Linked DNA regions of Homo sapiens: region 2 is linked to region 1. Evidence: promoter capture Hi-C in 16 types of primary human blood cells and fetal thymus (Javierre and others, 2016). All regions are on one chromosome and are shown on one strand. The core of a region is centred on a gene start or on the middle of the fragment in contact, and the rest is flanking DNA. Distances in the headings are between cores, read along the strand shown.

Region 1 (4,136 bases), core at 698-3,197:
CTCCTGAGTAGCTGGGATTATAGGTGTCTGCCACCACGCCCGGCTAATTTTTTTATATTTTTAGTAGAGATGGGGTTTCACCATGTTGGCCAGGCTGAGTCTCAAACTCCTGACCTCGTGATCTACCTGCCTCGGCCTCCTAAAGTGCTGGGATTACAGGCATGAGCCACCATACCTGGCCCCCTCTTTTTTTTCTTGATGGTATCTTATGTGGAGGATTTTACCCAAAAGTTCAGGGAGGCTAAACACTGGTGTAGTCCTACTTATTTATTGCTCAACATATCCCAGCTAGGAATGGAGGATAGAGACAAGGAGCAGGTATGAAGGCCAGTTGAGCTGTGTGATGTGGTGGATTTTTCAGATTACAATCATGCTTTACCTCTGTATTTGTCAGCTGTCTAGCAGAGTGGTTCAGTGCCCAGGCACTGGTGTCAAACAGGCCTGGGTTTGAATCGCAGCTCTTCCTCACTCATAAATGTGTGACCTAGGCCAATTAGACTAAATCCAAGTTTTCCCTTCTGTATAATAGGGGTGCTCTTTTTTCTTGCTCTGTCACCAAGGCTGGAGTGTGATGGTGCAATCACAGCTCACTGCAGCCTGGACCTCCAAGGCTCAAGCGATCCTGCCACCTCAGCTGTGATTACAGGTGTGAGCCACTGTGCCCAGCTGGGGGTGCTCTTAGCTACTCCAGGAGGCTAATGTAAAGATAACACTTGGAAAATATTCTGCCAGCCCTAGGTAAGAGTAAGCATTCACTAAATGAAAGTGATTATTTCTATAGAATAGGGAGTCACAGTTTACCACGTGTTTTCACATTGATTTAATCCTCACACCAGCCCAGTGAAGTAGGTATTATTATGATCCACATTTTACAGATGAGGAAATTGAGGCCTAGAGCAGTGACGTGAGGGGACCAAAGTCGACTTGGAGCTAACAGAGGCAGCAAAGATTAGAAACCATGTCTCCAGTCGCCCAGACCCAGAGCCCCACCTTGCAACCCTCTTCCCACACACCAGTTCTGTTTTTTTTCTGCCAGGCCTCAAAGTGTGGGACTTCAGGCTTTTCTATACTCGACTGTGAACACAGCCAGGGGTTAATCTCTTAAACTTCCCTCCAGTTTTGAAGTGGGGATCCTGCCCACACCTCCCCCAAGCCCTAAGCGGTGTCGGTAGCGGTCTCCTCCAGGGGGCGGGGCCTGTCATCTTTAGAAGCCACGCCAGCGATAAGCCACGCCCACAGACCAAAGCCTCGACCCCCACCCCCCATCCCCCGCCCTCCCCGATAGGAAACCAACTTCTTCCTCAGCTCCCCAACTAGCAACTGTGCCCGCAAGGTCTCTCGCGGCTCAGCATCTACCTTTTTTTTTTTTTTTTTTTTTTGACACAGGGTTTCGCTCTGTCACCCAGGCTGGAGTGCAGTGGCGCGATCGCGGCTTACTGCAGCCTCGAGCTTCTGGGCTGTCATCTAGGCCTCCCAAAGTGTTGGGATTACAGGCGTGAGCCTCCACGCCCAGACGGTGTCTACCTCTTAAACTCAAGCCTTGGAGTCCAACGCTCTACCATACGCAGCCCAGCCCTCCGCCATATGCAGCCCAGCCCGATGCCCAGTGCTTCGCACCAGGATACGTGGTTCTGTCTCTTTTTCATGCGCTCCCACGTCCGGGAGTTACAGTCCCGGCCCTCGATGGGCATTCCGAGCGCCGAGCCCCCTGCGCGGGCTCACTGGGTTCCGCCCCCGACGCGAAGCCCCGCCCCCTGACGCCCCGCCCAGCACCACGCCTCCCGGGCTTTCGCCTTACTTAGTGGCCCGCCCCGCCGCCCTTCTGACCCACCCCGCTAGGTAGTCCCACACGGCGGCCCTCGGCTCCCGGGCCCCGCCCCGGCCTCCTGCATTTGCCCGAGGCCCCCTCCCCAGCACTGGCCACACCCCAGGGTAGCCCCGCCCCCAGAGCTCCTCCCCCAGCGGCCGGGGTAGGGTGGCGGCTGGCCCAGCCGGGCCCCCGCTGCCCTCTGCCCTGGGCGCTTGGTCGGAGCGGGCTGGGCAAAGCGGGACAGGGCGAGCGCGGCGGCCCGGGGGCTCGGAGGCGAAGATGGCGTCCGGCAGGCGCGCCCCGCGCACCGGGCTGCTGGAGCTGCGCGCCGGGGCGGGCTCGGGGGCCGGCGGCGAGCGATGGCAGCGGGTGCTGCTGAGTCTGGCGGAGGACGTGCTGACCGTGAGCCCCGCCGACGGCGACCCTGGTCCCGAGCCCGGCGCTCCGCGGGAGCAGGAGCCCGCGCAGCTCAACGGCGCCGCGGAGCCGGGCGCCGGGCCCCCGCAGCTGCCAGAGGCGCTACTGCTCCAGCGGCGCCGCGTGACGGTGCGCAAGGCCGACGCCGGTGGGCTGGGCATCAGCATCAAAGGTGGGCGCGGGACACCGAGGGCGCGGGGTCGTGGTGTCTGGGGGCAGCCGAGGGCGCAGGGGGCTGGCAGCGCGCCCAGGACATGGAGCTGGAGGCTTCCTGTCTGGGGGTAAGGGGGGTCTGAGGAAACAGGTAACGGAGGGCACTGGGCACACCAAGGTTGGAGGGGGTTTCAGTAGTTGGTGGCCTTAGGGGGCACGGAAGACACAGGTGTGGATAAGATTGTGGGAGCACCAAGGACACGTGGGTGGGAGTTCTGTGTGGAGGCGGGGGGGTCTGAGGGGTAACCAGCATGAACATCAAGGACAAGAGGGGTCCCCCGGAAAGCAGAGTGTGGAGAAAGGGGGTTGAGGCCGGGACACCAGTGGGACAGGGAGGAGGGAGTCCCTGAGAAGCAACCAAGGTGGGTGCAGAGGGGAAGCCTGGAGTCTGGGAAGCACAGGGGTGGATAGGAGGCCTGGGTGCAGGCACAGGCTGGGGTCACAGGCAGAAGGCCAGCAAGGACCTAGGAATCTAAGGACCCAGGAAGGCTGCAGGGAGCCCTGACAGCTGGATTTGGGTCTCCTGATCTGACTATCTCCACCTTGCACAGGATAGAGCTTTCAGCCCCCAGGACTGACCGCTAGTGGGGTGCAGTTAGGGTGCAACCAGACTGTGTTTGAATCCAGGATCAGCTGTGTGAGGTTGCAAAAGTCCCGTCCCGCCTCTGAATCTGTTTCCTCAACTGTATAAGAGGATGACAGAGTTGTGATGTTTCTGAGAGCAGGGCTCACCACACCAGCACACTGTAGGTGCCTAGTTAATTACTGCTGTTAGCGGAGAGGAAAAATGGAGGCCAGCAGATACTCCCAAAGCAACTAAACATAGTTGTTAAAATCCTTGCACACCCCCAGCTGCTGGGTTCACTATTCCTGCCCATCTGTTTCTCAGGGTCCCAGCCCCCAGCAGGTGCTTTGGGAAAGGGTATCAGCCTTTGTCTCCACCTTGAATACATACCGTACCCTCTGGGGTCTCCCTGGTACTGGTTCTGTTGACTAGTGCCTCCAGACCGTTTGGCTTGGCTGAGGCGGTGGGGATGGTGGTGAATGCCACCACTGTGTGCCAGGTGCTGTGCCCAGGACACTAGTCTCATGATCCACTTCATCCTGGCAACAAGTGGTGAAAGGTAGGGAGTATAATTCCCATATTGCAGGTGAAGAAACTGAGACTCAGAAAGTTAAAATGATTTTCCCACGATTACATAGTGAGTGTCAGTGCTGGGATTTGAACCTTAATTATCAGCTACTGTCCCTCAGAGAGTGCTCAGGGAAGTTGATTCTTTCCTGTAGAAGGGCAGATCCCCAGGCAGCCAACCAAGAGGGGCTAAAAAGGAGAAATGAGAAAATGAGGGTATGGGCACCAGTCTTACCCCCAATCTCCAGCATGGGATAGGGCAACAGATGAATCCAAAAATTATACACTCAGTGTGTCAAAGCAGGAAGGAACTTATTCATACAGAATTCCATTCTGCAGATGGACACACTGAGACTCAGAGAGGAGCAGGGACTTTGCAAGGTCACACAAAGTTACTCCCCAGCTCCATAATTCTAGGTGGAGGGGAGGGTACTTTTAGGAGACTTCAGGTATTTCCATTGGATCCAAATCTGGGCTCCTGTTGCCATGGTAACCCCTCCTATAAAGTCTAGCTTAGTCTGAGGCAGCCATGAGTGATCATAGCTTCAAACTGAACTGAAGCCC
Region 2 (4,136 bases), core at 434-2,933, 160 kb before region 1:
TATCACACTTCTTTTCATTCACTCTGGCTCAAACTGAATGCTACAGTTACCAGCTACTCCATTTCAAATGTTTTGGAAAATAATAAACTTCCAATTAAAGCTGTACATCTTACATTCTCTTCTCTTGCCTTTTAAAATAATAAACACAAAAAACAAAAAATTTTGAGCAAGGACAGTGTGCAAGCTTGTGTAATGGCATTTAAATGAAACAATACATACAGCATCTAGCTCAGTGCTCTGACACTTTTTGGGCATTCCAAAAATAGCAGTACATTTTGGTTTACAGGCAAAAGATCTGCAGAGTGTCAAAGTGAACTGGGGACGGCAGCATGTGCATGGAAAGGTAGAACTCAAATGAAGATCAAGACACTTGTGTGCATGTATGTATACTAGTTTATTTGGGGTTCTTTTGGTGATTATAGATATATAGGACTGAAATTGTTGAGTTACAGGGCACGTGGAAATTCAGCATTAGTGCAAACTGCCAATTTCCAAAAGATGTACTAAATTACACTCCAACCAGCATTGTATGAGTGTTCAAGTTGCTCCATACATCCTCACCAAAACTTGGTATCATTTTGAACATCCTGGTGGGTGTATAATGGTACTGTATTGGGTGTTAGTTTGCATTTCCTTGATGGTTAGTGAAGTTGAATATATTGTTACATATATTATTAGCTAACATAATGGTTATGGACTGAATTCTGCCCGAGCCTTGGCCAAATTCATACATTGAAGTCTTACCCCTTGTACCTCAGAATAGGACTATATTTGGAGATACTTTGAAGAGTTCATTAAGGTTAAAAGAGGTATTATGAGTAGTCCCTAATCCAATATGATTATTATCCTTAAAGGCAGGGGAAGAGACACCAGGGACGCAAAATGGAGGAAAGACCATGTGAGGATATGGCAAGAAGGCAACCATCTACAAGGCCCAGGTAAAACCAAACCTGCCAATACCTTGATCTTTACATTCTTGCCTCCAGAACTGTGAAAAAGTGAATAAAAATAAATTGTTTAAACCATCCAGTCTGTGGTATTTCATTATGGCAGCCCTAGTAAACAAATACAACAATATTCTCTTTTGTAAAAAGTCTTACCATGACAGCACTGGAACATTTTTAGAATTCTATAATTTTAGAAAACTTACTTGGAATCCCATAAGGCAATATAATAATTTAAATTCATTATTGTTAGAGTCAAAGAAATAAAAATAGTTACCAGCCAAAGAATATGAAAACAAAATATTTAAACAACTAAATATCCAAATAAGCTAAGTATTATTCTCAGAGGGTAAAAGTAATTTATAAAAGAAACAACCAGAAATATATATCTGTGTCTATATTTTCAATAGTACTTTGAAAACACTGAATAATATATGTGGAACGCTTCATACAAGTCAGTCACTTAGATCCAAATGTCACTCTGAACTACAAACATAAGTAACTAAGAGGTCTCACATGCAGTAGGAGTGAAGGACACTGGCCTCGGTCCTCCAGGATTTATTGGTGGGAGGGGTGGCATGGTGGGAGGTGAGGATCTGGACTGTATCTTCACTTCCACAGGCGATCCAGGCATCGCTGGCACCCTTTTCTCAGGACCAACTGCAGAGAATCAGAGAAATGGAGGTTAGGGTTTTCTAAAAGTTTGCAAAAACAGACAACAATTTGAAATACCAACATACTTCCCTAGAGGACTGCTTGGTATAATAGGCTGAATAGTGACCCCCTAAAAGATATGTCCACATCCCAACATCTGGAACTGTGAATGTTACCTGATTTGGCAAAAGGGTCTTTGAAGATATCATTAAGTTAAAAATCTTGAGAGGATGAGATCATCCTAGATTGTCTGGGTGGGCTCTAAATCCAATCTGAATGGTGTCCTTAAAGAAGGGATGAGACACAGACACAGAGACATACACAGAGGGAAGCCAAAGAGAGGACAGTCACACCAAGTGGCGACAGAGGCAGGGACTAGAGTGACACATCTATACACCGAGGAATGCCAAGGAGTGCCAGCAACCAGCAAGCCAGGAGGGAGAAGGGGACACATTTGTCCTCTGAAACCCCGGGAAGGAATCAACCTTGCTGATACCTCAATTTTGGGCCTCTGGCTTTCTGAACTGTGAGAGAATGAATTTCTATTGTCTTAAGCCACTCAGTTAGTGGTACTTTGTTACTTCAACCCTAGGAACTAAAATGAGGAAACAAGGTCAAGAGGTGATGTGAACTGAAAGTTAGCAGTCTTTAGATAGTGGCTGAGAAAGGAAGAAACCAGGTTACAAATATAGCTTACCTCAAATGCATTTTCTTTAACTTCTCCTTATAAATGAATCAAATTATTAGGGGTGAAAAAGCTAACATGGGAACTATCTAGACTTAGGCCTCAACTGCAAGACATGAAAAGAAAATCAATCAGTTATATATAAATCAATATTAATAGGCTGGGCACGGTGGCTCATGCCTGTAAACCTAGCACTTTGGGAGGCTGAGGCGGGTGGATCACCTAAGGTCAGGAGTTTGAGATCAGCCTGGCCAACATGGTGAAACCCTGTCTCTACTAAAAATATAAAAATTAGCTGGGTGTGGTGGTGGGCACCTGTAGTCCCAGTTACTCAGGAGGCTGAGGCAAGAGAATCGCTTGAACCTGGGAGGCGGAGGTTGCAGTGAGCCAAGATCATGCCACTGCACTCTAGCCTGGGTGACAGAGCGACTCTGTCTTAAAAAAAAAAAAATCACCATTAATAATGATGTACTAAATTATATATATACATATCAACTACATCAAGTAGGAAAAAAGAGGGAGTCAACCTCTCTGACCTCAAACATGTAAATGTCATTCATGCTATACATTGTTCAAAAAGATGAAAAGTAGAGCTGAGTCTACATGAAGCAGAGGCTACTTCATCTATGGGAACAATTAATAATAGGCAGTTGTTTGATAATACTAAATGGCAACAAAATTCCAGAAAGATAAATTAGATAAACTTCATGATGCTGCAATTAGGTAGGTCTGAGCTAACAGGAATCAGACTTGATACCAATGAGTAATATTCTAATATATCTAACAAGTTATTTTTCCCTATCAAAGAGAACTTGTTACATACTTAGTTAATAATACGACCAGGGTTACCATAATCACCTTTAAATTGAGCTATGTTCCTCACAGTAATTCTAAGCTTTTCACTTAAGTACCAGCCATTCATTCTCCAATAACTGCTGAATTCAAATTAAAGTGTAAAAAATGGGGAGCAAAGGCTCAAATAAGAAGGTAAAGTCCAAGTTTTCCTTCTGTGAGAGCACAGCTATAAAGACAATACATACAAGAGTGTTCACGATCCTGGCAACAAGGAACATTTTTGTGCATTGATGGGACACAATGGTATTTGTAGAAAAGTATCTCCAAATACCATTTTTATGCTTCAGTTTGCAGTGGCCACACTTGGGAAAGGGATATAATAAAGTCAATCAAGAAAGCAATGCCCCCAAGTTACAAATCCCCTGACAAAAATGTGCAGTTCTCAGAACCATGTGGGCAACACTCTGCCAGCCCTTCCCATTTCTCTGTTCAGGACATTTTCTTTGTGAAATTGATGGTCGTCCTGTCTGATTAGTGGACTAATGAGCTGTTGCGCTTGCCTTTTCTTCCTGACAGTATTTTCTCAATGCCCTTCAGAGAACAGTTGACACATTTCCAGCTCTTCCATCTGGGGCCCAGCTTTCTGGAAGGGTAGGGGAGAAGGAAAGGAAGGAACTGACAGTTGTCTCGCACTGTAATGTGTTGTGTACAGTGTGCAACAACCTAGAGGGAGCTTTTCTTCAGACCACCTGGCTCTATAGCAAGGGTGCCAAAGACTTGAGGAAGGCTTAGCAGTGAGATGAGTTTTAACAGTCAGCACTTGGCAGAATAAAAAAGTTAGAGCAGCCCAAATGCAGAACGCTGAACTCTGTGCTCTTACCAACCAAAAGCTTTGATAGTGGGCCAAACCCAGCCACTAGAGAACTGTTTACAGATTGATACTTTTCATTTCACCACCCAAAACCTACAACACTAGTGTTTCTTCATGTTTCAAGTGAATGAAGCAGAAAAAGCACAGGTATGAAGACTGAGAGATTCCGTGTGAATTCTCATTCTGT

Evidence for each region. Contacts are between HindIII fragments. The CHiCAGO score rates a contact against its expected background, and 5 or more counts as called.
Region 2: a contact is called between a fragment that was not itself captured here and the fragment with the promoter of SNTA1 in region 1, in 1 of 17 cell types (total B cells). The highest score is 5.1, in total B cells.

The regions. Positions count from the first base shown.
Region 1 is chr20:33,441,574-33,445,709 of GRCh38, reverse strand. SNTA1 (syntrophin alpha 1) reads left to right here and starts at 1,947. Exons shown (of 8, transcript NM_003098.3): 1 at 1,947-2,399. The coding sequence starts at 2,090. RefSeq lists enhancers at 942-1,001, 973-1,473, 1,452-1,521 and silencers at 1,752-2,231, 2,342-2,401. The HindIII fragment of the contact is 9,847 bases long and covers 1-4,136 here.
Region 2 is chr20:33,604,424-33,608,559 of GRCh38, reverse strand. It overlaps CBFA2T2 (CBFA2/RUNX1 partner transcriptional co-repressor 2), which reads right to left. Exons shown (of 11, transcript NM_001032999.3): 2 at 1,461-1,604. Among named protein-coding and RNA genes, the nearest start is that of C20orf144, 56 kb to the left of the region's middle. RefSeq lists a silencer at 1,902-1,951. The HindIII fragment of the contact is 2,994 bases long and covers 187-3,180 here.